Linked DNA regions of Homo sapiens: region 2 is linked to region 1. The links are contacts of gene promoters, found by promoter capture Hi-C in blood cells and fetal thymus (Javierre and others, 2016). All regions are on one chromosome and are shown on one strand. Each heading gives the region's core, a stretch centred on a gene start or on the middle of the fragment in contact. The rest is flanking DNA. Distances are from core to core; before and after follow the strand shown. Region 1 holds the start of EIF5A2 (eukaryotic translation initiation factor 5A2). Region 2 overlaps LRRC34 (leucine rich repeat containing 34).

Region 1 (3,603 bases), core at 44-2,543:
AGTGTAGATTTCTTAGAATTGCTAGAACAGGTTTTCTCATCTGTAAACTAAATAGATCTTATAGGTCACTAGGATTCAGGAAAGTTTCAGTTCCCAGTTAATGAACATTGTAAGGGCCCAAGAAGGGAATGCTACCTTTAAGTATTCAACGTAATAACTGATTACCCAGTAATTGTGGGAAGGAAAAAATAGTGCTTATTACAAAATTTTAAGTATAGAAATCTCATGATCTGTAACGGAATACAAATGATCAAAGTCCCAACGCCGAAGCCAAAGCCTGATCTGCAAGGGTACTTACCTTGGCATGACCATGCTTTCCAGTTTTGGAAGTTGACATCTCCACTATTTTGCATGGTCGTCCTTTGAGCACCACGAAGCCGTTTTTGCGCAAGGCCGAGCACTGCATAGGGTAAGTGCTGGAAGCCCCGGCATCTCCAGTAGTGAAATCAATTTCGTCTGCCATGGTGGGCAGGGGAGATGGTAGTTTTTCCGTGGGAACTACACAAAAAGTTTGTGTTTGCTTTTTAACAACGGGTATGTAGGCAGGGAAACGTCTCATTTCGGACAAGTTATGTGCCAAGCATCATGGGCCCGTTATTTCTGCATGTAAGGAACACCCACCCTAGACTAGTGGCCACTTTCTAACTCTGGCCTCTACAAACTTTTCCAGCTACTGCTTGGGGAGGTGGGATGAGAAGTCGCAGAGGAGCTCGCTGAGGGTGGGGACACCCGCCCTGGGCGCTCCTCCGTGCTGGAAACAGCAGGTTGCGGCCCCCATCGCCCCACCGCAGAAGCCGGCGACCTTCCCCCGCCGCCCAGCCCTCGGCCGCCGCCCCGAACCCTACTGCGGGGGACCCAGCCCAGGCCGCAGGTCCCCGCGAAGGATGCGGGGTAACAGAACCTGGCCAGCAGCACCCGGCCCTCTGCTAGCTGGCGCGCACCCCGCCCTCCACCCTTCAACGTCGCCGCCGCGGCCGCACAGGCGCCCCCTGTTCTGCCGGCATCCAGGGCTCAGCTCGGCCCGGCCCGGCCCCACTAGGGCCTGAGCCCCGGCGGGTCCCGCGCTCGCCTCTGTTCCCCCATCCATTCTCCTTCTTTCTCTCGGTCAGCGCTCAGTTCTGGGCGCCTTCCCCGGCCCTGCCTCACTCTGGCCCCATCCCCACCAGCTTTTCCCCACCAGCTTTTCCCCAGGTCTTCACCTTTCAGCTGGCAAAGAGCGCCTTTCGTCTGCGCACCCGCGCTGGTCCCCTACAGCAGCGGCGCCGGCAGCGGCGGTGGCGGCCGCGGCAGTTCCAAGAGACGGGGCGGGGCCGCCACACTTTCCACACCCCAGCCTCCCCGCCCTTACCCGCCCCCACTCAGCCCTATTTCCGGGATAGGCCCCGGAGCGTCACAGGCACCGCCCTCTCGGGCTACCATTGGCTACCAGATTCCCGAGGCTCCGCCCAGTCACGTGAAGAGCGCCCTGGCAACCCCACGTGCTGCGGATTAGTGCACTTCCGGCGTGGAGCGCACTTTCAGCAGTCTGGTTGCCGAGGGTGAGCTCGCTGGCAGAGGAACTTGCGCCTTCCAACTCTTAGGTTTGTTGCGTTCGGGTCGCAGTCGACTTTAATGGGAACCAAGCAAAGCACCCAATGGCCCCTGCCATCAGGTGCGTGGCAGTTATCACATGACGATCGTCAGAACTCGCGAGGCGCGCAGATTCAGCGAGTGCCAGTGTGGCTGGCTGTGAAGCGAACTTTGGGTTCGAGCTTCTGGTTCAGCTTGCAGCCTTTCTTGGGGTTCGAACCTCCTCCTGGTCCTTAAAGAAGAATTCAGGTGCAGTATTTTATTACCCAGCTCGGCACCGCAGGTCCTGAGGACCCCCCATTCACCCCTTGGTGAGATTTTTGGCAGCGACTGCCGCCGGATGCCCCTGTAGAGTCAGCACTGCTCCCTGGGGTGGGAACTCCCGAAGCGTCCGCCAGCTAACAAGCCAGCAGTGAAATGAATTAACCCACTTCTCACACCAAAGGCTGTTGGGAAGTTGTGGAGGCGAAGGGTGTCTGACTCCTACGGCATTGTGGGTCCAGAGAGGTGTTCTGCCGACTCATCCATTCTTTCCTCCTGGCATTGGCATTCCTTAGAGTTTGGGGTTTAACCCTGGCACATTAGAACGCTTGGATGGTCTTCAAAATTGACCTAGAGCTTGTAGACTGCCATAGAAAGGTTCTTAAAAGAGATGTGCTCCCCCTTCACAGTTTCATTTCGCAACCTACCGCAGTATCCTATCTTGGGGAGGTGATCTAGGAAATTATTTCCCATCCCACACCCGCATTTATGTGGTAACTTTGATTTCCTATTGCTGTCTCATGAATAATCCCATATCTCACATTCCTGTATGACTCTACAGTTTACACATATCTTTCAAACAGGTCCAATTTAACTTTCGCAATAAGTTACTGCCCTCTCATGTACTGAATTCAGCCTCTAGCTAATATACAAAGGAGCCATTACAGCAGTGGCTCATGCCTGTAATCCCAGCACGTTGGGAGGCTGAGGCAGGTGGGTTCCCTGAGCTCAGGAGTTCGAGATCAGCCTGGGCAGCATCGTGAAACCCCGTCTCTACCAAAAATACGAAAACTTAGCTGGGCATGGTGCTGTGCACCTGTGGTCCCAGCTACTAGGGAGGTTGAGGTGGGAGGATCACTTGAGCCTGGGAGGTGGAGACTGCAGTGAGCCGAGATCCGGCCACTGTACTCCAACCTGGCTGACAGAGTGAGACCACCCCCCCCACCCCCAACACCCCAAAAAGAAAGAGCCAGATTAGAATCTTGGTTCATTAGCTCTTTCTGCTTTTCCTTATACCTCCTAACTTTTCCCTATTGTTTTTACAATGATCGCTAATAGTATTTAGTATTTATATAGGCAGGTAGTGTACTAAATTTTTGATGTGCATTATTCCTTTGTTTGTCACTGCTGCTTTCTATTTTTAACCTTGTTAAGTTATTCATATAAAGAAAAATTTGTCCCTTTTCTTTTTATGAGTTTTGAAAAACATATCTTGATCATCTGCTATGATCAAGATATGGAATATTTCCCTCATTCCAAAAGTTTTCTAGTGGCTTTTTGTTCTCAGTTTCCTCCCTCTACACCCAGCCCCTGGCAAATATTAACAGTACTTTTTTAACCTGCATTTTTAGTTACGGAAAAAGGAGAAAAGCAATTTGCCCCAGATTACAAAGCTAGTAAGTTGGAAAACCAAGGTTGGAACCTAGGCAGTTTGGTTCCAGAGTCACTGCTCTACCTACCACCATATACTGCATTCACAAAAGATTTGGGTTTGGAATCAAATGACTGAGCATTACTCATTCAATAAATACAGTCAGTTCTCCTGAAGTCAGTAAGAACACTGAATTGGCAAATACTAAACCATTGCTCCTAGGGGAAATACAGGGTTAGGTTCCTCTGAGCCTCTGGGCCACAACATTGGTTAATATGTGATTTTTAGTGTGTTTCCATTTAAAGACACCTGATTTCCTATATATTGTTGGTTCATTAACATTAAACTCATGGCCAACAGCAATGTAATTCATACCTGAAGGTAGCTTATCTAACATATGC
Region 2 (3,711 bases), core at 1,212-3,711, 1.1 Mb before region 1:
GGGCATGGTGGCGAGCACCTGTAATCCCAGCTGCTCGGGAGGCCAAGGCAGGAGAATTGCTTGAACCCAGGAGGCTGAGTTTGCAGTGAGCCGAGATCACGCCACTGCACTCTAGCCTGGGCGACAGAGGGAGGCACCATCTCAGAAAAAAAAAAAAAAAAAAAAGATTCACCCTGCCCACAAACAAAAAAAAAAGATTCACCCCACCCACAGAAGTTAAAGATCACTCTGGAGCCCAAGCTTGGGTACTCCTGGTCTAGTGCTCTTTCCTGAATACTATACCACCTCTAAGACCTACTAACAGTGTTGCTCGTGTACTTACTTACCTGAATCAAATGGTATGTTCATTTTACCAAGCATTTTCAAATGGCTATAAAATCACTCAATATGTTAGGATTTTCACACACATGAATATAAGCAAACACTATTAATGTAATCAAGTATTTGTCTTTCTTACCCCTTTTTAATTTCTTCATCCACTTCTTGGAGTATATGCAATATAAAAGGATTAATTTTCTGGGATTTTTCCATACACAGATTAGAATAATGTTTCTGGAGACCAGATTCTGGAGATTCTGAAAAATATATGCATCCTCTATCACATATAAATTATTCTAGAAGCTTTAAAAAAAACCATAAAAACTACCTCTTTCAAATATATGAGTTGTATGTGTGTATAGTGGGGGTAGGGAAGAAAAGGAAACAGAATTAAGGTTAGAAAAAGAGAAGAGAAATAAAAATAATGAATGGGAGAGATAATTAAAATGCTGTTTGGAGAACTAGGGCCATTGAAGCACCCATTGAGGCTTGGCAGACACTGGCTCAAGTGAGCACCCTACGTTGGAAGTGACATAAAGGGAGAACTAAGCTCCATTATGTGCCAGGCCTGGTAGCTGAGGAAAATGACTTCCAAAGAAATTGTATATTTTGTCCAAAACCATGCAGCTAATAAAGGCAGAGTGCAGAATCAAACTGATTCCAAAACCTCTTTCCACTGTGCCCTAATGGGTTACAGGGACTCAAGGTTTCTTTTTTTTTTTTTTTTTTTTCAACTCAGTATCTCAGCATCCACGAGAGGAAAAGGTTTCTTAAAATAGCTTCACATAAAAACAATTTTATCTAATAACCTAACTCAAAAGGGATCTGATAAAGCACCTACTCCCACAAGCTTCTTGGATACCCTCTACACCATCCCAAGTTTGAATGTAACTGTCATTTCTTCATACCAAATCGAGGCCTGGCTCACAGAAGCTCTTCTCCTACCCAGCCTTCCATTTCCTCTTTCTAAAGGTGACTTTTCCCTAAGTTCTTAAGAAGACAGACACAAAGCAGGAGTTGAGATCTCCTTTCTGTTATACATGCAGATTTCCTTAATGACCTTGCTGTTCTCAGTAATACCTCAAAAGCATCTTCTGCAAGGCCTACATCTTCTGGGGTGGAAGTTATGCTGTTACTTTTCTTAGAAGTACAGGCCACTGTCTTTGTTTTCTATACATCTACCTTTTGTGGATGTCTTTTAAAAATTTGTGCACAGAGATCTCATTGCTCAACCAGCCTAGCTTTTTAGGAGCTGGCTTCTCTTCTAAGTCTCTACATCTCAGAAATGTTGTTTACTGAGTGTCCTTTGCACTCTGAAGAATAATGAGTTTGCTAAACGGATCTGCAGAACGAGATTTAACATGAGGAACATTACATTTCAGATGAAAGCAAACAAAATTTTCTTATAGTTTTTAATAACCTTTTTAAAAATAAATTTAATATACTTATTCCAGACAATTTGGAAATTTCTTTTTTTTTTTTTTTTGAGATAGGTTCTTGATCTGCCACCCAAGCTGGAGAGCAGGAGCGCAATCTCGGCTCACTGCAACCTCTGCCTCCCGGGTTCAAGCGATTCTCCTGCCTCAGCCTCCCGAGTAGCTGGGACTACAGGCACACACCACCACACCCAGCTATAAAGACGGGGTTTCACCATGTTGGCCAGGCTGGTCTCAAACTCCTGACCTCAAGTGATCAGCCTGCCTCAGCCTCCCAAAGTGCTGGGATTACAGGTGAGCCACTGAGCCCGACCGGAAATTTCTAACATTAAAAAAAAATACATGTTAATCTGCAATCCCACTGCCAAAGAACAACCACAATTGAGGTCTAGGCATACATACTTCCTATAGTTTTTCTTTTATATGCATATTAAGTATTTTTTAAACAAAATTGGAATCTTTGGATATAACTTTATATGCTGTTTTTTAAATTAACATTATATTGTAAGCAGTTTTCCCATGTCACTAGATATTCTCTGAAAAATTTAAATAGCATAATTTCTGTCATGTGGATAGATGTACGTATTAAAAAAAGCTTCACCTATTTTAGAAAATTTTCATGTATTTAAATGATATTGTAGCACAATATTTCCCAAACTGTATTTTGTGGAATATGCATGTTCTACAGGATGATCAAAGGTGTTCCAAATAGAATAGGTCTTATTATCAAGTAAGTCTGAGAAGTACTAAAATAAACAAAACTATACACAGACACAACACTTCTCAGGGCATTTAAAACGTGCACACTCTGCAAACTGTTAAGCTTGAGAATAGGGAGGATAAGAATGCTGCATTTCCGGCCGGGTGCGGTGGCTTACGCCTGTAATCCCAGCACTTTGGGAGGCCGAGGCGAGCGGATCACTTGAGGCCAGGAGTTCGAGACCAGCCTGGCCAATATGGTGAAACCCTATCTCTACCAAAAATACAAAAATTAGCTGGTGTGGTGGCGCATGCCTGTAGTCCCAGCTACTTCGGAGGCTGAGGCGACAGAATCGCTTGAATGCGGGAGGTGGAGGTTACAAGGTTGCAGTGGGCAGAGATCGCGCCACTGCACTCCAGCCTGGGCGACAGAGGAGACTCCATCTCAAAAACAAAACAAAACAAAAACCTCACTTGGAATGCAATCTAGAAAATGCTGCTTTAGCGTCCTCCCCAGGAAACAAAGCAAGTAGATCCCAAATAGAAGTTGGAGCTGGGCTCCCACTGGGCTTCTTTCTTCCCTACTGTCTTCCTTGGTATTAAGAGAAAAATTGCCCTGAGAATCTCCGAGGGCACAGAAATGTGTCAGACTACAATTCATTTTCGCGAAGGCATGAAGGAATCTTAGACTACGAGCTAAATACAGCTAAACAAAGTTATGGAAATATTCTTATTTAACAAGCTAGCCAGAGATTTACAGTATTTAAAAGTTTCTGCTACCCTTCCTTTGATTTAAAATTCACCTACGTATTTTGTATGCCAGGATTTTGTGGCACCAATGAATTTATTTCCTATATTGTATTCATATTAGAAGGAAAATAGCCTTCAAATTGTAAAGCAAAAACTAGGAAATAACCCAGCTACGCAGGAAAATGTCAAGAACCTAACCCAAATTTCATTTTTTCATCCACGCCTCTGGCAGCCACGTTTTAACAATTTCCAGAGAGAGGACTTACTTAGGAGGTAGATCCCTCCAAAACATGCTTTTCTATACTTAGCCAAGCACTGGGAAATCTAAGCGATAAGCATGAGTCAGAACGTGGGTGCCCTATCCAGAATCCGCAGTGTGTACATTTGAACAAGTTGTTATGCCAGCTTAAATTTCCTCTCATGCTAAAGGCAGAGCCTAACACTGCCCATCTCCTGGATGCAGTATTATTAAGCCAGCCTCCGAACACAGTTCCGTATCCACAAACAG

What was found. The method cuts DNA at HindIII sites, captures the fragments that hold promoters and counts their contacts. A CHiCAGO score of 5 or more calls a contact.
Region 2: a contact is called between a fragment that was not itself captured here and the fragment with the promoter of EIF5A2 in region 1, in 1 of 17 cell types (total CD8 T cells). The highest score is 5.6, in total CD8 T cells.

The regions. Positions count from the first base shown.
Region 1 is chr3:170,907,344-170,910,946 of GRCh38, forward strand. EIF5A2 (eukaryotic translation initiation factor 5A2) reads right to left here and starts at 1,294. Exons shown (of 5, transcript NM_020390.6): 1 at 1,200-1,294; 2 at 299-498. The coding sequence starts at 463. RefSeq lists a silencer at 815-954. The HindIII fragment of the contact is 11,425 bases long and covers 1-3,603 here.
Region 2 is chr3:169,808,171-169,811,881 of GRCh38, forward strand. LRRC34 (leucine rich repeat containing 34) reads right to left here. Exons shown (of 11, transcript NM_001172779.2): 2 at 458-575. Among named protein-coding and RNA genes, the nearest start is that of LRRIQ4, 2.8 kb to the right of the region's middle. RefSeq lists an enhancer at 242-386 and a cis regulatory region at 314. The HindIII fragment of the contact is 228 bases long and covers 2,348-2,575 here.